Linked DNA regions of Homo sapiens: all the other regions are linked to region 3. Evidence: promoter capture Hi-C in 16 types of primary human blood cells and fetal thymus (Javierre and others, 2016). All regions are on one chromosome and are shown on one strand. Each heading gives the region's core, a stretch centred on a gene start or on the middle of the fragment in contact. The rest is flanking DNA. Distances are from core to core; before and after follow the strand shown. Region 1 overlaps NCSTN (nicastrin). Region 2 overlaps COPA (coat protein complex I subunit alpha). Region 3 holds the start of SLAMF1 (signaling lymphocytic activation molecule family member 1). Region 4 has its middle 32 kb from the start of ITLN2. Region 5 overlaps ITLN2 (intelectin 2). Region 6 overlaps COPA (coat protein complex I subunit alpha). Region 7 overlaps COPA (coat protein complex I subunit alpha).

The links. The method cuts DNA at HindIII sites, captures the fragments that hold promoters and counts their contacts. A CHiCAGO score of 5 or more calls a contact.
Region 1: a fragment that was not itself captured here is called in contact with the fragment with the promoter of SLAMF1 in region 3 in 9 of 17 cell types (total CD4 T cells, naive B cells, fetal thymus and 6 more); the score reaches 11.0 in total CD4 T cells.
Region 2: a fragment that was not itself captured here is called in contact with the fragment with the promoter of SLAMF1 in region 3 in 7 of 17 cell types (naive CD8 T cells, fetal thymus, naive B cells and 4 more); the score reaches 7.9 in naive CD8 T cells.
Region 4: a contact is called between a fragment that was not itself captured here and the fragment with the promoter of SLAMF1 in region 3, in 12 of 17 cell types (fetal thymus, naive B cells, total B cells and 9 more). The highest score is 11.3, in fetal thymus.
Region 5: a contact is called between a fragment that was not itself captured here and the fragment with the promoter of SLAMF1 in region 3, in 9 of 17 cell types (fetal thymus, naive CD8 T cells, naive B cells and 6 more). The highest score is 7.9, in fetal thymus.
Region 6: a contact is called between a fragment that was not itself captured here and the fragment with the promoter of SLAMF1 in region 3, in 4 of 17 cell types (total CD4 T cells, naive CD8 T cells, total B cells and 1 more). The highest score is 7.5, in total CD4 T cells.
Region 7: a contact is called between a fragment that was not itself captured here and the fragment with the promoter of SLAMF1 in region 3, in 1 of 17 cell types (fetal thymus). The highest score is 5.5, in fetal thymus.

What each region holds. Positions count from the first base shown.
Region 1 is chr1:160,350,536-160,353,997 of GRCh38, reverse strand. NCSTN (nicastrin) reads right to left here. Exons shown (of 17, transcript NM_015331.3): 6 at 2,626-2,776; 7 at 2,193-2,302; 8 at 1,792-1,944; 9 at 1,007-1,111; 10 at 761-838. Among named protein-coding and RNA genes, the nearest start is that of NCSTN, 8.9 kb to the right of the region's middle. The HindIII fragment of the contact is 235 bases long and covers 1,624-1,858 here.
Region 2 is chr1:160,333,109-160,336,121 of GRCh38, reverse strand. It overlaps COPA (coat protein complex I subunit alpha), which reads left to right. Exons shown (of 33, transcript NM_004371.4): 4 at 800-880; 5 at 2,443-2,519. Among named protein-coding and RNA genes, the nearest start is that of COPA, 8.6 kb to the left of the region's middle. The HindIII fragment of the contact is 997 bases long and covers 817-1,813 here.
Region 3 is chr1:160,645,317-160,648,483 of GRCh38, reverse strand. SLAMF1 (signaling lymphocytic activation molecule family member 1) reads left to right here and starts at 1,440. Exons shown (of 7, transcript NM_003037.5): 1 at 1,440-1,614. The coding sequence starts at 1,539. LOC107985220 (a long non-coding RNA gene) reads right to left here and starts at 1,475. Exons shown (of 2, transcript XR_001738266.2): 1 at 1,149-1,475; 2 at 1-1,011. RefSeq lists enhancers at 1,309-1,358, 1,399-1,608. The HindIII fragment of the contact is 11,196 bases long and covers 1-1,468 here.
Region 4 is chr1:160,985,415-160,988,776 of GRCh38, reverse strand. No RefSeq gene overlaps it. Among named protein-coding and RNA genes, the nearest start is that of ITLN2, 32 kb to the right of the region's middle. RefSeq lists a silencer at 1,084-1,378. The HindIII fragment of the contact is 816 bases long and covers 1,017-1,832 here.
Region 5 is chr1:160,947,415-160,950,768 of GRCh38, reverse strand. ITLN2 (intelectin 2) reads left to right here. Exons shown (of 8, transcript NM_080878.3): 5 at 58-216; 6 at 603-723; 7 at 2,737-2,840. LOC101928372 (a long non-coding RNA gene) reads right to left here. Exons shown (of 6, transcript NR_110695.1): 6 at 847-2,118. Among named protein-coding and RNA genes, the nearest start is that of ITLN2, 5.7 kb to the left of the region's middle. The HindIII fragment of the contact is 5,820 bases long and covers 1-3,354 here.
Region 6 is chr1:160,316,488-160,319,525 of GRCh38, reverse strand. All of the region lies in intron 8 of COPA (coat protein complex I subunit alpha), which reads left to right. It also overlaps the pseudogene SUMO1P3. Among named protein-coding and RNA genes, the nearest start is that of COPA, 25 kb to the left of the region's middle. The HindIII fragment of the contact is 2,829 bases long and covers 1-2,714 here.
Region 7 is chr1:160,289,804-160,292,897 of GRCh38, reverse strand. COPA (coat protein complex I subunit alpha) reads left to right here. Exons shown (of 33, transcript NM_004371.4): 28 at 278-414; 29 at 700-886; 30 at 969-1,079; 31 at 1,402-1,563; 32 at 2,212-2,406; 33 at 2,682-3,094. The coding sequence ends at 2,741. It overlaps LOC107985219 (a long non-coding RNA gene), which reads right to left. Exons shown (of 3, transcript XR_001738265.2): 3 at 72-1,641. Among named protein-coding and RNA genes, the nearest start is that of PEX19, 6.2 kb to the right of the region's middle. The HindIII fragment of the contact is 1,121 bases long and covers 748-1,868 here.

The sequences.
Region 1 (3,462 bases), core at 492-2,991, 290 kb after region 3:
GTAGACCTTTATCCCTCAAGCCTTTTGGGACCAAGGCTCTCTGAATTTCCTGTAGCTTCCACCATTCTTTTTAGAGTTAGAAAATTGGGGCATAAAGAAGAGACCTTTTTTTTCATATTTATAAGTAAATTCTACTGTCTTCAAGACTCTGCTTTATCCTCAGTGGATGCTTCACTTATTATTTATTGTGCAGAATTGAAGGGAGCAAATAATAATAGAAAACTGCGTGCTGAATGCCAAACAGATAACCAATTCTTTAAATGCTACAGGAGTCCAGAGCAGGGATGATGCTGAAGGCTGGAATTGCAGAAAGAGGACCACCTGGAAAAAAGCAGGCCTAAAGGTGGACCTAGAGGGAAGGGAAGGTTTTGAACAAGCAATGAGGAAAGTGGAGGACAAGTTGGGCAGCGAGTGTGACACAGCCAGGACTTGGGTAGAGCAGCCTTGACAATTGGATCCATGGGGCAGCAAGGCAAGAAGGGAGCTAGTCACTCACCTATCCTTAATGGGCAGTGGTAGTCTGCTAGGCAACAAATGATCAGAGAACTACCCAGTCCAGGGAACCAATGGAATGTCACTGAGTTCCTGATTCTTCCCAGCAGCAACAACAGCTGTGGTGTTCATCCTTTGGCCAACACCCAATCCAATCCTGTCTCTTACCCTGTCTCACAGGCCCTGGGGGTTGGTGGAAACAGGGCAGGGGTTGGGGTCTGGATTCTGAGCTGTAGGAATAGGAAATGAGGGGAGATGCTCAGGTTACCTGGTTCCGTACAGACTCATTTTTCTGAGAAACAGGATCTGTGTGCATCCAAAGCTCTAATGAAGTTCTTAAGGCCACCTGGGGGGAGGATGAAGAAACAACACTTAGAATCAGTCTCCTGTTCTGGGCCATGCCTAGGGGATAGAAGTCAAGGGAAGAGGCGGTGGTTCCTGCAGTTAAGACCGCAGAACAACAAAGGAGGAAGATTTAATTAAAAAGGAAGGGGCTGGGGGACATGCCACATACCTGTCCCAGCTCCACAAATGAGTCAACATTCTCTAACTGCACGGGAAACTTGCCCTTCTCCATATCGTAGACCATCCTCGAGCTGCCAATGTAGTCAAAAGTTTCCTGAGAGATGGAGGTAGGTGGGAGGGGGAACAGAGATTCCAAAGGGTTAGGAGAGCCTCGAAGGCGGCCAGATCATCAAAGCTGTAGGTAAGACGACTATCTCAGGTCACCTCAACTGCTAGTCAGCTTACAGTCATGTGACTTTCGGCTTCTCTTGGCCCCACCTCCCAGCTGTGACTATCCCTCATATGTATTACAAGACTTCTGAAGCCCAGAAATGGGGAAAGTAGCCTTAGTAAAGGTCTAAGATGAACATCAGCTATTATGTGTCTGATTCTTAACGGTCCCCCACCTCCAGTGACTCAGCCACAGATGCTGTTCCCTTATTCTGCTGTGGTCCTAGTGATGAGAGTCAGGAGCCTAACGGCTCCTGGATGGAGATAGCAGTAAAGGAGTCCAGAGAATAAAAGTAAAAGGCCGCCTCCAATATATCTTATCAGTGGGGGAAAGAGGGGGCTGGTTACATACCAATTCAGGGTGTAAAAGCTTCCTAAAAAGAAGGAATCTAAGCTTCCTAAAATGGAGGAATCTAAAGGGGAGACACATGTAGACACATCCAGAAGCTCTGTGCTGGTTAACAACTTAGGTCAAGTGCTGAGGTCTTCTCCAACCAGTAGCCACTCTCATCTTTACTATCCTCTTTCTTCCCTGCCATTGCACCCCAGCCAAAGAGCCCTTACCCCTTGAAAGAAGACAAACATGACATTGCGGGGCAGGGTGGTCACATCAGGTGCCTTTTGCAAAGCTTCAGCAGCAGCCAGCTGGGTGACAAAGGAAGCCACTGCGCTTTCAGCCCCTGGGGCCACATTCCAGAAAAAGGAACGACTATCCAGCTAGGTACAACAGAAGAAAAGTCAGGGGATATATACTTTAAAACTGGCCCCAAACCTCCTTTCTTGCTCCAGTCAAGAGAATATACCTGTCCTGTGGCAATGGAGACAACCCAGGAGTCCCACAGCCCAGATTCCTCCCCATTTGAGGCTTCCCAATTTAGCAACTTTGAAATCTGATATGCTAGAGCGGGGCCTACCAGCTCTTTTTGTGCCAGCCCTGCCCATCCTGATCAGAAGCCAACACTCACCCGGGTGGCAGCAACCACAACCCTGTCGTCAGGCTTTAATGTCCCAGTTGTATTTATAGGCTTTAGCATGCTCCACACATTGTAATCAGACAGGGGGTCACAGACGATTTCTAAGCAGGACACAAACAATGAGAGATCAACAAGGCTAAAGGAGAAGGTAGCTATAAAGGCAACATTGGAAATCTCTGACCAGTGCCCCACGGACTCTAAGTCGTTTTCTCTACTTCCAACAGTCCGAGGTTGGCTTCTCTGCCACTATCCACTTTAGGAACAAGCTGCCTAAATTTTTCAGAATTGTTTCTAGTTCTCCCATGCAGAGCTCCTTCATGGTGTCTACTCCTTCCCTATTACAGTCTCTCTAACATTCCCTGGCCTGGTTCCACTCTCCCTCTGCCCCTTATTCCATTACCCTCATGGTTCGGATCTGCCCTACCTGGGTTGATGCTGAAGGTGCTTTGGATGGAGCTGCGCCGCATGCAGGTGGCAGTGCTGATGACAGCATGCATGTGTGAAAAGAGCTGCATGGCACATAGTGGGAAGGTTGGTGCTGAGCCATTCTGACTCAGGTTGTGATCTTGATAGCACTGAAAGGGGAGATGGACCCCACTGAGACAGCTAGTTTGTGGAGGCCCTCCCTTACATCCCAGAAGGAGGAGGGCCCAGTTCCATCCTTTTGGGATGGAGCCACACCCTTTTCGGAGACATTTATCCCTGAGCTATAGTTATCCTAGAACCACCATAGGATCTATAAGGTCAAAGAAAAAAACTCATCAAGAGTTACAAAGGGTTGCAGACTCAGTGGTTTAGCTGGAGATGAAACTATCCCATTCCAGATGGCCTGGCCCAATTTGAAGCTTCAGCCACTGAAAAGATTCAGTGTGGTCTGATACAAAGAGCACCAAACTAGAGATAGGAAATCAGATATGACACAGCTTGGAGATCAACTCACCATACAACTTTGGACAAATCTCTTAACTACTCTATGAGTCAAAATGGAAATACTAGACCAGAATTAAGGCATATTAGAGCTAAAAAGAAGCTCAGAAATTACCAAATTGAATTTCTCAATCTCTAATCCAATGCTTTTTTTTTTAACGATACTAGTGGTTCTTAACCTGGGCTGTGTACCTTGTTTCATATTACTCTTTCAGATATTCTTTATATTTTCTTCTAGTCTAAAAGGCTTTAATGCTGTAATATCAGGTAGGAGCAAAATGTGGGGAAAGAATGTGAGAAGAACTAACGTCTTGGTTCTTTTTGGAGCAACCGT
Region 2 (3,013 bases), core at 66-2,565, 310 kb after region 3:
CCCCTGCCTTGACCTCCCAAAGTGCTGGGATTACAGGTATGAGCCATCGTGCCCAGCCTGTCATACTTTTTAAAAGTGATGGGTAAAGCACTTAAGGGGTCTATATTCAAGCCAAGAGCACAATTTTGCAGTAGAAAAAAGAGTTGCAAATCAAGCCCTGGATAAATATCTCCTGCTATTAAATGCAGATGGCTTCTTCCCAAAGAAAGAAAAACTTTTTTTTTTTTTTTTTTTTTTTGAGACTGAGTCTCGCTCTGTTACCCAGGCTGGAGTACAATGGCATGATTTCGGCTCACTGCAACCTCTTGTATCCTGAGTTCAAGCGATTCTCCTGCCTCAGCCTCCCGAGTAGCTGGGACTACAGGCACATGCCACCACGCCTGGCTAATTTTTTGTATTTTTAGTAGAGACAGGGTTTCACTATGTTAGCCAGGATGGTCTCGATCTCCTGACCTTGTGATCCACCCGCCTCGACCTCCCAAAGTGCTGGGATTACAGGCATGAGTGACCACGCCCAGCCTGAAAAACTTCAATAATTTTATCTTTAGCTTTTCCCTAATCCTACCCCAACCCCATGTTGTTTATCTGACCTATATTTTCATTCTTGTTCTTTTCCCCTCAAATCTTAAACAAGGCTTTCTACCAAGGTTCCTACCTATTTAGAAATGCCAAAATACAAATAATGTATATAAATCTATATTTATATACATATTTCTATCTCTGTAAAGATATCAATTTCTCTGAGCCTTTTAGAGGCTCAATAACTATTTCTGTTTCTTAGTTTGATTTGTCTTTGCAGGTTTGGAATTACAAGCTTCGGCGCTGTCTTTTCACATTGCTTGGGCACTTAGATTATATTCGCACCACGTTTTTTCATCATGTAAGTAGTCATGGTGGCGCTAGTTTTGGAGCATTCTTAGTTTCCCCATAGTAATCTTTATTTGATCCTTGAGAACCCATGTTTTAATAATAGAGTTGTTTTTGGAGTGGCTCTTCTACAATCTGTGTGGTATTGTCCTTTCTGCTTTTTTTCTTTCTGCAAAAGGAAGCACTTGGGATTATACTGAATTTAATTTTATTGGATTCAGTGGATTCTATGGGAAGTCATTGTTTCTCTGTAGGGAAAAGTAGGGATTTGATTTCAGATTTGCTGAACCAAAAAACAAAAGTTTGCCAGCTAATCCCATGTAGGGTATTATTAGTAAGTAGTAGGTGTGTCTGGAAGAAGGTCAGACTAAGATGCCATTTTGATCAGCTAACAAACGTTTCGAAGTATTAACAATCATACCCCTCTATCCTAGGATTTTTGGGTCTGGTGGAGGCTGTTCCCTTAGCCAGGCTTACTACTTTCTTTGATCTGCCAGGTAACATAGTAGATTTAGATAGTGAGGTGCAGATTACAGACTCCCAACCTCTGAATCCAGTTGCACCCTGACAGGATCTCCTTATAGTTCTGTGTATTAGCATTAACTTACACTATTCTTTGATTGCCAGTAAATTAAGTCTCTTTAATTAAGTTAGAAAGAATATGATGAAATAAACAATTTACTGGTTGAGTATATATTATTTCTTTTTTTAATTAAAAAATTCTAGGATAGGAGAGAATGAGAAAATTACAGCTTAAACATTTGAGAATGATAACCACTCAATAAGATAACTTATTAAGTAGGAATTATTTGTCATTGCCATAAAGGACTTCCTGAAGACCCTTGCCTAGAACAAGTTGCCATCTACCTGGAAAGTTACGAAAGACCTTATTTTCTTTCATTTTACCAGCTCACTAAATATGTGTGTGCCTTATACTTGCTAAGCTTTGTGCTAAATACTGAAGGTAGAGATACTATCTCTATTGAAAATAGAAATACCATCTATTTTCAGTGTTTAACACAAAGCTTAGCAAGTGTAGTAAGAAGGAAGTGTAAATAAGAAATACTTCCTTTTCTCAACAATCTTATAGACTCCAAAAAGGCTAAATTGTCTTTACATGTTACTTTCTGCTTTGCTTGCTGAGACCTGGGAATTTTTTGAAACTGGACAGAAAGAAGTCAGACAATAAAATAATATTCCCATCCTAGAGTTAAAGGTAGAAGAGTCTTTCACAGGATCTTAATTTACATGATTAACTGTATATAAATACACACACACACACACACACATATAGAAGTAAATGTAAATGTATGTTTCACTATCTGCCTCTGAGAATGTATTGTGCCTCTAACTGGCTTCCATTCTTAAGTCTTATAGGTGAAAGTGCCGAAGTTGAGAAAAGCTGTTAGAGTGGTAGAGAAAAGGAGACAGCTAACCTGATAGCAAAAGCAGCAGCCCCTTTGCTAATGTAGCTGAGCCGTTAAGCAATGCAGTTCTTTAGAGAAAAATGATTACAAGAACCTGATAGAACAGATTTGTTTAATGTTTAAAGCCTTTGTCTGGAATATCTTTCAGGAATATCCCTGGATTCTGAGTGCCTCCGATGATCAGACCATCCGAGTGTGGAACTGGCAATCTAGAACCTGTGTTTGGTAAAGCAGGAGGCAGAGGGCTCGAAAAGAGTCTTCATTTTTCCTAGTTTTTCATAATGAGCTTCTCTTAGAACAATCTTCTCCCTTCTCAAATGGACTATGTCGGCTGATTAATTACTGATTGTATTTGTAGGATGCTTTTAAGTGCAAAATAATAAATGTAGAGGCAATCCCATATATGAATCTGGACTTCCAATAATTTCTTACCAGGAAGAGAAGTCATATAGCCTTTTAGAACAAGAACTTTTAGCTGGTTTTCAATTATTTTCCCATAAAACCTGAGTCAAGGTCTAGACCTTTGTCTTATTTTGTGTTTGGAGCTGGAGCTTTACATAGAACTTTCCATGAAGAGTTAGGGACCATTTAAAGTGATGGCCTTGGCCCGGCGCCATGGCTCATGCCTGTAATCCCAGCACTTTGGGAGGCCAAGGCAGGCAAATCACCTGAGGTTAGAAGTTCGAGACCAGCCTGGCCAAGATGGTGAAACCCCGTCT
Region 3 (3,167 bases), core at 191-2,690:
AGCTACCATATGATCCACAATCTCACTGGTAGGTATACACCTAAAAGAAAAGAAATCAGTATATTGAAGAGATATCTGTACTCCCATGTTTATTACAGCACTATTCACAATAGCCAAGGTTGGAAGCGACCTAAGCGTCTATCACCGATGAGTGGATAAAGAAAATGTGGTACATATACACAATGAAGTACTATTCAGCTAAAAAAGAATTAGATCCTGTCATTCACAATGACATGGATGGAATTGAAGATCATTATGTTACGTGAAATAAGCCAGGCACAGACAGACAAACTTTGCACGTTCTCACTTGCTTGTGAGAGGTAAAAATTAAAACAATTGAACTTGTGGGCATAGAGAGTAGAAGGATGGTTACCAGAGGCTGAAGGGTAGTGGGGGTTGGGGAAGAAGTGGGGATGGTTAATGGGTACAAAAAAATAGAAAGAATGAATAAGAACTAGTATTTGATAATACAACAGTGTGACTATAGTCAATAATAATTTAATTGCACATTTAAAAATAAAAATATAATTGCACTGTTTGTAACACAAAGGATAAATATTTGAGGTGATGGATATCCCATTTACCCTGTGTGATTATTACATATTGCATGCCTCTATCAACATATCTCATATACCCCATACAAATATATGCATACCCCATACATATATATATACATACACACACACACACACACACACACACACACACACACACACACACATATATGTATATCTACTATGTACCCACAGACGTTAAAAATTAGAGGAGAAAACACACACACAACAAGGAGACTGAGCTGGAAGGATGGAGCTCTGGGATAGATTTGTCCTACATCCCTGCCTGGGAGGGAATCCACACACATGCAAGAAGACAAACTAGGAGCATGGGCTACTAAATTATACCACATTGCACTCATCGGGGTCACAGGGTTTCTTCCAAGTGACCCGCACATGCCCTTCCCATCTCTGTGTGACAGTGGCACCTGCACCAGACTGCATGTTGAGGTGTCATCTGAAATTATGAAATAAAACAGAAGTAAGAGGTCTATTAGCTCATCAAAATGCAGTTATCTAAGTTCAGCTGTGAACTGCCAAATTTGAGGAGTGATCCAATGAAACATCTTTTCTTTGCAATCCAAGAAGACTTACCGGAGAGAACTGCTCAGAGAATCTGCAACATCCGGTTCCTGGAGACAGCTAAGGAAAGAAGCTGGGGCGCATGTTTCTGCCCAAAGCCGGGTTTTGGCCGAGGTGACTACACACCCCCTTTCCTGGCTCCCATAGGCTAAGTGCCTGGCTTCTTGAGAAGCCTGCTTCTTGAGAACAAAAAAGTGATTTAAAGCCTCATGGGAGATGAGCAATCCTCAAGACACAAGCAGAAAAAGTCCCAGTGATACAGGAAGCGGGTTCAGGAACCTGCTGGTTCCTGATACATAAATCAGACAGCCTCTGCTGCATGACACGAAGCTTGCTTCTGCCTGGCATCTGTGAGCAGCTGCCAGGCTCCGGCCAGGATCCCTTCCTTCTCCTCATTGGCTGATGGATCCCAAGGGGCTCCTCTCCTTGACCTTCGTGCTGTTTCTCTCCCTGGCTTTTGGGGCAAGCTACGGAACAGGTGAGTGTTCATCTGCCTGATGGTTTGAGTCCCATGTTAGCTGCCAGGAATCAGCGTATCTTCGTGGATGGAGAGAAGGTGCAGGGCTGGGTATTGTGTTTGGTCACTCTTCCTTAGGGACTGGCTGTCAGTTTCAACTGCCTCTTTCAAAGAGGAAGGAACATTATAAGTTCCTGGGCCCTTGGGTTTCCAAGACTCAGCCCCACCAACCCCAGTTTCCAAGGAAATGAGGGGCTCTAAGCCAAAGGCTCCAGTCACTTTTCTGACCAGTCTTAGGGTGACAGGCCCTGGTAGAAGTCTTGCTTGAGTGGTTGGTTTTACATGGGCATCTTCTGGCAAAGACCCAGCCTAGAGAGACTGAGCTGGATGGACTGAGCTCTGGGAGAAGATTTGCCCTACATCCCTGCCCTGGGAGGGAATCTGTGCACATGCAGGCTGACAAACCAGGAGCATGGGTCAACAGAAAGCATTGGCTAGAGTGGGAAGAGAGAGTAGAAGTGAAAACTCCAGGCTTTTGGCTGAGAACCAGCAGTGGCCACAGTGCGGTCATACTGGTGTGTATTTTCTTGGAAGAGAAGGTCCAAGAAAGCAAGAGGGAAGAAGTTGGGATTTCTGAAGGCTAGGGCTGGTTACAGTATGTGGGAAATGCAAATTGGGAACCCTCAGAGAGTAGCTCCAGCAGGAAGGCCAGACAAGAGCTACCTTTGGATCTGGACTCTGTTCCTGTCTTTCTGTCTATCTTCTTCCCAAGGCAGGCTATTGCTTTCTGTTTAGAAGTATCAGGGCTATGAGAAAAGGTATTTGAGAAAGAAAAAGCCAAGCAAGAAGTGGACTTTGGACTGCCTGTGTGAGTGGGGTGAGAATCTCCTTCTGCTTATTTGTTTAGACTGTGGGAGGTAGCCTGGAGTAGAAGAGGTGGCATTACGGACACGGGGGGAAATCCTGAGGCCCAGGGTGTTTTAAGCTTGGGGTTTTCAAGACCGCAAATCCAATATGGACTTTTCCAGGAAAAGCACCGTGATATGCCAGGGATGTGGGGGTGCTGCACAATGGATGTGTCTTTTACCAGACAGCCAGACGAACAGGGCTTGCTCAGCCCACTTTCTTTTGGAATCTGCAGATCCATGGCTCGTACTTCCCAAGGTCTAGGGGAGGAAGAACTGAGCTCGGGGCTCAGAAAACCAAATCGAGCCACTTTAAGTGGTCACAGGGAAAGCCAAGCCTCCGTTGTTGCAACCAATTTGTGACTGCACCATTTCTGGAGCACCTCTTGGTGACTGTAAGGTGTGATGGAGTGATGGTGCTGAACTGTGAACTGGACTTTTCCATCTCTGTGCTTGCTAGCCTCTTGGCCAGCCTGGCCCATAGCATCTTAGGCACTGCTGACCAATAGCTCGTCTTATTGAGGCTTTGGAAGTCGCCGGTCAGGGAGAAGCAACCCAGCCCCACAAGGCAAGTCTATCCAATCGGAGGCTGCTCACTTCATTGCATGTTTTCTTCTTTGAATCTTCACAAAAGTTTTTCAGTGTTTTTATTTTTAAATACACACCCTT
Region 4 (3,362 bases), core at 175-2,674, 340 kb before region 3:
GGCAAAAGAGCTGCACATTTTGGGAGAAGGCATTTATTTGTAGGGGCTGAAATGTGCTAGCTCGAGAATCAGACCTAAGAATTACAAGGTGATTAACCAAAGGAAAAAGTCTCTGGAAGTAGAAAACTAAAAAGAAGGTTTGGAACAGGCTGGAAGTGAGATTGAAGCATATCACAGAAATGTTAGACATTCTTCAATGTCAGTGCCTTGGATGAATTTATAAGGCTTTGCCTTAAAGTTACTTGTGGGCTTATAAAGCCTGTGTCAAAGCTAAACAAAGCCAGACAATAGTTTAGACAAGAAGTAAGGATAGGTATTTATTTATTTATTTGAGATGGAGTTTCACTCTTGTCGCCCAGGCTGGAGGGTAATGGCGCGATCTTGGCTCACCGCAACCTCCGTGTCCGGGGTTCAAGCGATTCTCCTGCCTCAGCCTCCTGAATAGCTGGGATTACAGGCATGCACCACCACGCCCGGCTAATTTTTTTGTATTTTTAGTGGAGACAGCGTTTCTCCATGTTGGTCAGGCTGGTTTTGAACTTTTGACCCCAGGTGATCTGCCCACCTCGGCCTCCCAAAGTGTTGGGATTACAGGCGTGAGCCACTGCACCCGGCCTAGGATAGGTTTTTTTAAGTAGTAACTATTGCAGTAGGGAAGAGGGCCCAAGGTGAACTGAACTTAACTTCCTTAAAAAAAAAAAAAATGCAGGAGGCCTTTTGAAGGCTGGGATGTGCTAAGGGATAGGCATGAAGATATTAAGGAGAATTGCTCCATGTGACTAGACAATCTGGATTTGTGAATTGGCTCTTGTCCAGAAGAGAAATAAGCACCTATTTTTACGACAGGAGCTAGTAGTGCAAGTTAGAGCAAGGCACCCACCTGGTTGGGAGCTGGAGCAAGATTTATTTCCTCAAATGTTTGCATTTCAAAGAAACTCTCAGGTCCCAGTGAAAATAGCTCTGGGTAGAAGATTTACATCTCAAAGAGGCAGAGAAAGATGTTTTAATTGCAAGCTTTCTTTCTAAGTAATTGCACTAAGATGAAGTTCAGGGGCCTGTGTCTATTGCTAGGTTTGGGCTGGGATGCACAGTAAATTTTTCTGACAGCGATGAGCTTTTTCAGGCAGGCATTTTAAGCGGGGGGCTGAGGTCCTCCTAGGGACAAGGCCTTAAGTTGCTAGAAGCCATGCTAGAGCTTGGTTAAGGAGAGTCTTTGTTACCTGGCGTCTCTCTGCAGTGCCGTTTCAATGCCTTAGAGCAAGAGAGTGGTGGATGGACAGTGATAGTGATTCACGTGCGCAATTCACAACTTGCATTAGCAACCAGGCAAAAGCAAGTGCTGCTTTTAGAGGCCTTGGGAAGAATTTCCACAAGTTTCCGGCCATTGGGATACAGGGGAAAAGGGATTGGAGGGAGGCTCATCGGGAACAATACATTAGGTAATGTTGGGGTTTATAAATCGATACCCCCAAATATAGTACTGAACCGAAGAAGCAACCTGAAGATCTCTCTGACCTTCCCCGCTCCACACGGTCTCTCCCAAAAAGCTGAAGTTCCTTTATTTGCCTAAGATCCAGACCCTCCAAGGAGAACAGTAGGTTTCTTTTCCTCCTGTAAGACCAAAAATGTAACCACACCTGAACAGACCTTTTCATGAGTTAATGCCTGCTTCTCATGGTCATCTAAATTCCAAAGAAAACTATTTACAAGTTAATTTGTTTCCTGATCAAATCATTCTCTTTAGTAATCATTTATTGCCCATCAACAGAATTCCTTTTCTCCCGCAGGATCCAAACTCATTCTTTCTGTAACCTCATGATGGCGTATAAGCTTTTGCACCTCACTGGGAGGTTGGGTCTTCATTCTGAAGGCTTCTATGTATACATATTAAATAAGTTTGTATGCCTTTTTTCCTATTAATCTGCCTTGCGTCAGTGATTTTCAGCAAACTTCAGGGAGCCAAAGGCCTTGGCTCCCACAGTGATAATAAACAATATGACTTTTGGCTATCAAAATTCCTGCTGTTAGTTAAGGAAAAATTGTGACAGTTTCTGAAATGGACAAATACAGGCATCCTTCCAGTGGATTACTAGGATTTGTCTAGACTAGAGGACAGGATGCTTCTGGGGGTTTTCTGATTCTCTACAGGTCAGTATCCTTCCTTGTCTTGTACTGTTTTGCAACTCTAGAAAGAAAAGTTAAATATGTAGAAGCCTGACAGTGATACAAATGATCCCTGTTCATATTAATACAAATGCAAATTGTTTGCCTGGTAGAGATACAATTGATTTTCTCTCTGTAGAAAAAAAGATGATCCCAGCCAGGCGTGGTGGCTCACCCTGCAATTCCAGCACTTTGGGAGGCCGAGACAGGCAAATCACAAGGTCAGGAGTTCGAGACCAGCCTGGCCAATATGGTGAAACCCTGTCTCTACTAAAAATACAAAAATTAGCCAGGCGTGGTGGTGGGCGCCTGTAATCCCAGCTACTCTGGAGGGTGAGGCAGGAGAATTGCTTGAATCTGGGAGGCGGAGTTTGCAGTGAGCTGAGTCCTCGCCATTGCATTCCAGCTTGGGCAACAGAGTGAGATTACATCTCAAAAAAAAAAAAAAAAAAAAAAGAATCCCAGAAATTAAATGTTTTATATTTTTGCCACAAGAAAACACGTGCAAGTATGAAACTTTTTGTAAGGTCCTCTGAGCTGGCTGCACTATGGTCAAGCCACGGTGACATTCCCCCACCCTTGTGATAATGTACTTTGTGATACTCCTGTCCTTGTGAATGTACTTTGTAACATTCCTCCCCACCCTTGTGACAATACATCCTCCCTGCCCTTGTGACAATACACCCTCCCTGCCCTTGTGAATGTACTTTGTAACATCCTCCCCACCCTTGAGAATGTACTTTGTAATATCCATCCCCTGCCTGTAAAAAATTGCTCCTGACTACACCGCCTATCCCAAACCTATAAGAACCAATGATAATCCCACCACCTTTTGCTGACCCCTTTCTCGGACTCAGCCCACTCACACACAAGTGAATAAACAGCCATGTTGCTCACACTAAGCCTGTTCAGGTGGTCTCTTATGTGGACACGCATAACACTTTTATTATTATTATTATTAAAAAAGTAATAATAAAAAGAGACAGAGTTTTGCTCTTGTTGCCCAAGCTGGAGTGCAATGGCGTGATCTTGGCTTGCTGCAACCTCTGCCTCCTGGGTTCAAGCAGTTCTCCTGCATCAGCCTCCCAAGTACCTGGGACTACAAGCGTGCACCACCACGCCTGGCTAATTTTTTGTATTTTTAGTAGAAACGGGGTTTCACCATGTTAGCCAGGCTGGTCTCGAACTCTTGACCTCAG
Region 5 (3,354 bases), core at 726-3,225, 300 kb before region 3:
CCTTCTGCCTCCTGGTACCTCCTGGCCCAGTCAGGCTCAGTGTCTGTTGCTTTCCAGAACCCTGGCTACTACGACATCCAGGCCAAGGACCTGGGCATCTGGCATGTGCCCAACAAGTCCCCCATGCAGCATTGGAGAAACAGCGCCCTGCTGAGGTACCGCACCAACACTGGCTTCCTCCAGAGACTGGGACATAATCTGTTTGGCATCTACCAGGTACACAGGGCTGCTGGCTGGGGGGCACTTTCTTTGGTGAACAGAGATCGAAGTGTCTAGGGTAGGGGGCAGATCTGTCCTGTGGTTCCACATCACTACTGAGTGGTTGGCTGTTTCTCCTTCCTTTGATTCACTGTGAACTCATGTCTGGCCTCTCAGAAACTCTAAGCCAGCAAGGAAGAGGCCTGTGGGACAGGAAAGCATGGGGAGAAAGAGACAGGGACAAGGGGTTTGGGGCTGTTGGGGAGACACAGCTATGGGGAAAAGCAGTCACTATTATGAGGATTGGTTTTGGGTAATGGCAGTTAATTTGAAACCCCTCCTCCCCCCACACTGTGGCAGCATCTCTACTGTCCTCACAAAACCTTTCTTCTGGGTCTCTGCAGAAATACCCAGTGAAATACAGATCAGGGAAATGTTGGAATGACAATGGCCCAGCCATACCTGTGGTCTATGACTTTGGTGATGCTAAGAAGACTGCATCTTATTACTCACCGTATGGTCAACGTGAGTGTTTGCTCCCTAAGTCCAGTCATAAATATTTTCTTGTACTCTTGGAGAATGGTGGCAAATAACAACAATTAATAATTGCTAGTATTTACTGAGCACTTAAAATGCACCAGACTCTTGTCTTGGAACTTAACATGATTTTGTGTCATTTAATTACCATGAGAAAACTATGAAGTTAGAATTGCTGTTATCCCCATTTCACAGCACGTAATCCCAGGTTTCTTCATCACCACCTTGTATACTCTTATAATTGTGGGGAAAAGAAAAAGAGATCAGACTGTTACTGTGTCTATGTAGAAAGAAGTAGACATAAGAGACTCCATTTTGGTCTGTGCTGAGAAAAATTCTTCTGCCTTGAGATGCTGTTAATCTGTAACCCTACCCCCAACCCTGTGCTCACAGAGACATGTGCTGTGTTGACTCACGGTTTAATGGATTTAGGGCTGTGCAGGATGTGCTTTGTTAAACAAGTGCTTGAAGGCAGCATGCTTGTTAAAGGTCATCACCACTCTCTAATCTCAAGTACCCAGGGACACAATACACTGCGGAAGGCCGCAGGGACCTCTGTCTAGGAAAGCCAGGTATTGTCCAAGGTTTCTCCCCATGTGATAGCCTGAGATATGGCCTCGTGGGAAGGGAAAGACCTGACTGTCCCCCAGCCCGACACCCACAAAGGGTCTGTGCTGAGGAGGATTAGTAAAAGAGGAAGGCCTCTTTGCAGTTGAGATAAGAGGAAGGCATCTGTCTTCTGCTTATCCCTGGGCAATGGAATGTTTTGGTGTAAAACCCGATTGTATGTTCTATTTACTGAGATAGGAGAAAACCACCTTAGGGCTGGAGGTGAGACATGCTGGCGGCAATACTGCTTTTTAATGCACCGAGATGTTTATGTATGTGCACGTCAAAAGCACAGCACCTTTTCTTAACCTTGTTTATGACACAGACATTTGTTCACATGTTTTCCTGCTGACCCTCTCCCCACTATTACCCTATTGTCCTGCCACGTCCCCCTCTCTGAGATGGTAGAGATAATGATCAATAAATACTGAGGGAACTCAGAGACTGGTGCTGGTGCGGGTCCTCCTTATGCTGAGCGCCAGTCCCCTGGGCCCACTTTTCTTTCTCTATACTTTGTCGCTGTGTCTCTTTCTTTTCTCAGTCTCTCGTTCCACCCAACGAGGAACACCCACAGGTGTGGAGGGGCAGGCCACCCCTTCAATAATAGTTAAGAAAAGGTGCATACAAAACATTAGCTGGGCATGATGGCGCATGCCTGTAATCCCAGCTCCTCGGGAGGCTGAGGCAGGAGAATCGCTTGAACCTGGGAGGCGGAGGTTGCGGTGAGCTGAGTTCACACCACTGCACTCCAGCCTGGGCAACAAGAGCGAAACCCTGTCAAAAAAAAAAAAAAAAAAGTGCACACTGAGGTTCACAGGAAAGAACCACTAGCAGAGTGGTGAGAGAGATTTACTTTTGTTATGAAGGATAACTTTAATTATCTTACAAAAGACAGTTTTCAGTATAATAAGAGCACAGAAGTTAAGTTGTGGATAAAAAAATCAAAGACATCACTGTTTGCCTTTGATATTTTGATGAAAGCAGGTGATGGTCAGGGAAACTAACCCATGGTAATTGGATGAGAAGTGTGTAAACAGCAATAGGCAGCCACATCTGATCATTGCTTATTCCTGCTGGGCCTTCTCAGATCTTTTTGGTAATCTTTTTGTAGAGTCTAGTTTCTCCTGTAAGCTGTAAGCAGACCTGGGTCCTTTTGTGAGTCCCAGCCTTTGTCCTCTTGCCCCCTATGAACAGAGGTTTCCTTGGGGACAAGTTTAGGACTGACGTGCACCAGCCACTGGCCATAAAGGTACTGGGCTGCACCCCTACAGCCTGGGGTGTTTGGCTGTAGCCTCAGCTTTTGGCTTAGGGAATCCCTGGACTGGCCAATGGGATGCTGCTTCTAGTTCATCCTTTGACTACTTGGCTGTTTCTTCACCTCTTCTTTTTCAGGGGAATTTGTTGCAGGATTCGTTCAGTTCCGGGTGTTTAATAACGAGAGAGCAGCCAACGCCCTTTGTGCTGGGATAAAAGTTACTGGCTGTAACACTGAGCATGTGAGTTTTTGGGGAGATCAATGGCCCACGTGTGGGGAAAAGAAAGAGAGATCAGATTGTTACTGTGTCTATGTAGAAAAGGAAGACATAAGAAACTCCATTTTAATCTGTACTAAGAAAAATTGTTTCTGCTTTGAGATGCTGTTAACCTGTAACTTTAGCCCCAACTCTGTGCTCACAGAAACATGTGCTGTAATGAATCAAAGTTTAATGGATTTAGGGCTGTGCAGGATGTGCCTTGTTAACAATATGTTTGCAGGCAGTATGCTTGGTAAAAGTCATCGCCATTCTCCATTCTTGATAAACCAGGGACACAATGCACTGCGGAAAGCCGCAGGGACCTCTGCCCAAGAAAGCCTGGGTATTGTCCAAGGTTTTCCCCCACTGAGACAGCCTGAGATATGGCCTCATGGGAGAGGAAAGACCTTACCATCCCCCAGCCTGACACCCGTAAAGGGTCTGTGCTGAGGAGGAGTAGTGAAAGAGGAAGGCTTCTTTGCAGTTGAGGTAAGAG
Region 6 (3,038 bases), core at 51-2,550, 330 kb after region 3:
CTAGTATGTAGTTTAACTCCACTGTTTCTTTGTTGATTTACTGTATGGATGATCTGTCTGTTTTTGAGAGTGGGGTATTAGCTCTCCTACTATTATCATATTGTAGTCTACCTCTCCTTTTGGATCTATTAGTGTTTGCTTTATATACTTGGGAGCTTTGGTGTTGGGTGCACAGATACTTATAATTGTTATTTCCTCTTGCTGAATTGACCCCTTTATCATTATATAGTGACCTTCTTTGTCTCTTTTTACAATCTTAGGTTTGGTAGTCTGTTTTATCTCATGTAAGTATAGCTACGCCTGCTCTTTTCTGGTTTCCAGTTTCATGGAATATCTCCCACTCCTTCGTTTTCAGTCTATGTGTGTCTGTATAGGTAAATGGGTTTCTTGAGGGCAGCATATAGTTAGGTCTTCTCTCTTTATCCGTTTAGCCACTCTATGCCTTTTAATTGAAGAATTGAGAGCATTTACATTCAGTGATATTATTGATAAGCAAGGACTTATTACTGCTGTTTTTTGCTTGTTTTCTGGTTTTGTTTTGTTTTTTTTTGAGGCTTCTCTCTTCCTTTTCTTACTGTCTTCTTTTGTGGTTAAGTGATTTTCTTTGGTAATATGTCTTAATTTGATGCTTTTTATTTTTAGTGAGTATATATTAATAGTTTTTGTGCTGTAATTACCATGAGATTCACAAAAAAAAATCTTATAGATAGAATAAGGTATTTTAAAGAGATGACAGCTTATTTTATATCACAAACACAAGAACAAAAACAAAGGCTAAAACACACTCAGAAATTATACATTTAACTCCATTTCTGTTCCTGCCTTTTTGACTATCTCTTTAACATGTTGCTATAGCTATTATTGCTTTTGATATATTTGTCTTTTGGGCTTCATAGTAAAGTTATAAGTGGATTGTGTACCACCATTATAGTAATATAGTCTTCTGGGTTTGTCTATGAACTTAATTTTACATCTTGGGTTTTATATCTTGAAAAGTTTTCTTTTTGCACATTAGTGTTTTTTTTTTTTTTTTGTTTTTTTTTTTTTTTTTTTTTTTACAAATATTGTTTATTTTAATGAAGCTGGTACAGACAATGTCCATTTAAAACCCATATCCCAGGCCAAAAAGTACAAATAAAATCAAAAAGAGCAGTGTTCTGTTGTATTCATTTCTGCATGTATAGCTTTATTAATTGCTAATGAAAATTAGAACTTTTCTGGGATCTTCTGACAAGATTTTTAAAAAATCTTAAAATGCCTTTTCTTCAATGAAGCCATCTTTGGAGTTAGTCATTACTCTCTCCTTATCAGTTATCTTGACTTCAACCCGATATTCCTCTTCTTTTGGTCCAGACCCTCAAATTTAAGAGTAGCTTGAAGTTAAGGAAAGGTCATTTTTCCACAGTTTCAGTTCTCTGAAACACTTCCATCTCCCACTGAAAGTCACAGTCCAGGAGTGAAGTAATCACATGCTAGAACATCAGGGCCAATTCGCAAGTTATTATGAACGCTTGCATTGGTCAATCTTATTTATCACCACAAGCCTGAAAATGCAATGTCCTGAAAAAGGTGGGCTCTCTGTGCACACGTAATTTTTAAAAAGGAGAGGGTAATATGAAGGGGACTGAGGCTTGATCACCAAAAATCAGCACAATGAAAATAAACAATAATGAATAATGAGCACTAGAATTCAGATTACCAGATGTTTCAAAGAGATGGGGTGCCAGTTTTCAATTCCGTTTTTAACACCACATTACAAAAGAACTATTTTTAAAAATGAGAAAGGATTGAGGGAAAAGAAAAAAAATAAAAAGAATATCTAAACTGTTGAATGACCCCCCATTTGTTCCTGATAAACTTCAATCACATCTTCTTCCTCCATTCCCAGTTCTTTTGGAGTATGATTATCAGCAATTCTCTGACCCTCAAAGAGAAACCTGAATGAATTCATTGGAACGCCCTGTCTTTGACAGTATGATTCTTTGAGTTTCTTGAGATGTGTTGTCATTTTCACTTTGAAGTGAATCTCACTGCTATCCTGTCCAATGACTTTGAGTTTAATATATTCACCTTCCTTCTTATCCCCCAAGTCCTCAGTTGAAGGTTTTGCCTCCTGGTCAGACATGATGACAGTGGCTTCACCCGGGGGTCTCCGCACAGCAGCGGCCTCGGGTAAGCAGAACCTCACTCCGGGGTTTACAAATCCTTCTCCCTTCCCCACAGCACAACACCGCAGCTGCAGTAACTTCCGCTACCACATTAGTGTTTTTTTCTTTCAGATCGAAGAACTACTTTTAACACTTACTGTAAGATGGATCTGGTGGTGGTAAATTCTCACCTTTTGTTTGTATGGGAAATACTATCCTTCATATTTGGAAAATAAAATAATCTTGCTGGGTACAGTATTCTTAGATGTCAGGTTTTTTCTTTGAGCACTTGGAAAATGTCATTCCTCTCTCTCTTGGCCTGTATGGTTTGCATTGAAACATCTATTGCCAGACAAATTGGAGCTCCTTTGTGTGTTCTTTGCTTCTTTTCTGTTGTGTATTTTAGGATCCTTTCTTTGTCCTTGACTTTTGAGAGTTTGACTTTTATATGCCTTAGGGTAGTCTTACTTGGGTTGGACCTGTTTGGTGTTCTCAGGCCTTCCTGTACCTGGATATTTCTTCCTCAAGTTTTGGAAAATTTTCTGTAATTATTTCTTTGAATAAGCTTTCTACGCTTGCTCTTGCTTAGCTCCCTCTTGAAAACCAATCATTCTTTTTTTTTTTTTTTGAGACAGAATTTTGCTCTTGTTGGCCAGGCTGGAGTGCAATGGTGCGATCTCAGCTCACCATGACCTCCGCCTCCCGAGTTCAAGTGATTCTCCTCCCTCAGCCTCCCGAGTAGCTGGGATTATAGGCATGCACCACCACACCCGGCTAATTTTGTATTTTTAGTAGAGACAGGGTTTCTCCATGTTGGTTAGGGTGGTTGCAAACTCCTGACCTTAGATGATCCGCCCACCTCAGCCTCCCAAAGTGCTATGATTACAGGCA
Region 7 (3,094 bases), core at 59-2,558, 360 kb after region 3:
TCCAAGCAGAGGTCTGTTTTGAACACTAAGCCAGTATTGTTATAATAACAACAATAATGATAACACTGCAATAACTGCTAACGTTTATTTAATGTTCACTGTGTGCCAGGCACTATCCTAAATACTTTAATAGGTATCATTAAATGAGGTAGGTCTTACAATTAAGTGTATTTTACTGATGAGGAAACGTGAACAGAGAAATTAATTACCTTGCCCAAGGAAAAGTAGCTTTTTATGCAGCAGGGCCAAAATCCTTGTTTCTTTCCTTCTGTTCCAGCTCCTTCATGACCAAGTAGGGGTAATCCAGTTTGGCCCCTACAAGCAACTGTTCCTACAGACATACGCCCGAGGCCGCACAACCTATCAGGCTCTGCCCTGCCTACCCTCCATGTATGGCTATCCTAATCGCAACTGGTAAGGCCCTTTTCTCTTTGCTTTCATCTGTTCCAAGTTGTGGTCGATATTTCAGATGGTAGCCTCAGTGACATAGTCAGAATTCTCTCAGAGCTAGGGTTTCCCAGTAGAAAAAGATCTTTGGTTTGTTACTCTATGGGGTTGGTTTACACCTGCTGTCATCCTCTTCCCCAGCTACTTTAACAGGAGACAGGAGGGTAGCTATGAGGATGTTTGCCAGAAAAGGAAATTGGGTCCTAGTTGCCTACTGACTATCCTGTCTTCTTCCTACTTTTCCCTTTCCAGGAAGGATGCAGGGCTGAAGAATGGTGTACCAGCTGTGGGCCTGAAGCTTAATGACCTCATCCAACGGTTGCAGCTGTGCTACCAGCTCACCACAGTTGGCAAATTTGAGGAGGCTGTGGAAAAATTCCGTTCCATCCTTCTCAGTGTGCCACTTCTTGTTGTGGACAATAAACAAGAGATTGCAGAGGTAGGAGGGTCTAGCCGCTGTCCCAGTTCTGGGCACTTCCACATTCTTGTCTCTGTATCCTGACCTTCTGCCCCCTCTACAGGCCCAGCAGCTCATCACCATTTGCCGTGAGTACATTGTGGGTTTGTCCGTGGAGACAGAAAGGAAGAAGCTGCCCAAAGAGACTCTAGAACAGCAGAAGCGCATCTGTGAGGTAAGATCTATAGGACCCTGAGCACAACAGAGACGTCCTTCCCTTCACCCTTCACTAGGTTTGAATTCTTTAATTTCAAACCCAGATCTGAGTGGGGATGAAGAGAAATTTAGGCCCTTCATTTCTATGAGGGGAGGATACATTTCTTCATCCTACTTCCTCATCTCACCAGTCCTCCATACCTAGGAGGTAGAAGACCTCTCAGCTTTATAGCCCATCATCCTATTTTGTGTTGTGTTTTTTATGCATGTGTAGCAGCTTAGAAATGACTTCTACCAGGTGTAGCATCAACCTGGCATGTGTTCCTTTTTCTGTCCACCAGATGGCAGCCTATTTCACCCACTCAAACCTGCAGCCTGTGCACATGATCCTGGTGCTGCGTACAGCCCTCAATCTGTTCTTCAAGCTCAAGAACTTCAAGACAGCTGCCACCTTTGCTCGGCGCCTACTAGAACTCGGGCCCAAGCCTGAGGTGGCCCAACAGGTAGATGGAACTCCTTCAGTGACCATAGGGAAGCCAGATCAGCTCTTACATGGAGGGAGCAGACCAAGGTCCTTGCCTCTGAAACAAAGCAATAAATAACAACATTCAACAAAAAGCCAACAGAATGCTACCCTCTGTTTACTTCCTGACTTGGTGTTTCCTTTGTTCCTGGAAAATTAATAGTTTATTGAGACATGGCACTCGTCTAAGAGTGCCGTGCAACCTAGAATAGCTCCACTGCAGCTGAAAGTAACCCCAGTCCTGTCCTTAAGCTCCAGATATCCCATCACAACCACCACAAAGCTTCACATACACATCTCATTACTTGTGTCCTCCAAATGCATTCTTTTTGGGTGATGGAAGTCTGTTTTAACCCTTTCTAGGACCTGACCCTGATAATCTCTAGAGTTGGTGGAGGAATGTGGGTCTAGATTATGGAGCCACTTTTGTATTGAGAAGGGGAAAGTTTGATACAATAGGAATGGTGATTGTTAACCCTTCACATACATCCAGTACAGAGGTTGGGACCTCTTTTCACGCAGTACAGTTGTGTCTCACATCAACGGAACTACCAAACCATGGTGTTGGGATCCTTTGAGGTGTTGTCTGCAGCCTTCTGTCCTCCTAAATACTCCTTCCTTCCCCTAGACCCGAAAAATCCTGTCTGCCTGTGAGAAGAATCCCACAGATGCCTACCAGCTCAATTATGACATGCACAACCCCTTTGACATTTGTGCTGCATCATATCGGCCCATCTACCGTGGAAAGCCAGTAGAAAAGTGTCCACTCAGTGGGGCCTGCTATTCCCCTGAGTTCAAAGGTCAAATCTGCAGGGTCACCACAGTAAGTACTGTCCTCAATAAATATATCTAGGATATTGAGCGAAGGGGAAAAAGAAAGAAACATGGTGGTCCTTTTTTTCTTCTTGTGCTTGTCCCCTGCTCCCTGAGGCAGTGACACTGGAGAAAGCTAGAGCATCTCCCCACTGCTCTTGGCCAGTCAGTGATGAACACCCCAATACCTGTCTACTGTGCCCATTGAGGGGTATAGGGAATACATTTTCTAGGGTTCTCAATCTTACAAATCTCTAACTTGTTCCTTTGTTTGTTTTTCCACAGGTGACAGAGATTGGCAAAGATGTGATTGGTTTAAGGATCAGTCCTCTGCAGTTTCGCTAAGGCCCCCTTTGTGTGCATGGGTCAGTCACCATATGTTCCCCCCAGAGAATGTGTCTATATCCTCCTTCTAACAGCACCTTCCCCCTGCAGCTACTCTTCAGATCTGGCTCTCTGTACCCTAAAACCTAGTATCTTTTTCTCTTCTATGGAAAATCCGAAGGTCTAAACTTGACTTTTTTGAGGTCTTCTCAACTTGACTACAGTTGTGCTCATAATTGTCCTTGCCTTTCCAGCTTAATTATTTTAAGGAACAAATGAAAACTCTGGGCTGGGTGGAGTGGCTCATACCTGTAATCCCAGCACTTTGGGAGGCTACGGTGGGCAGATCATCTGAGGCCAGGAGTTCGAGACCT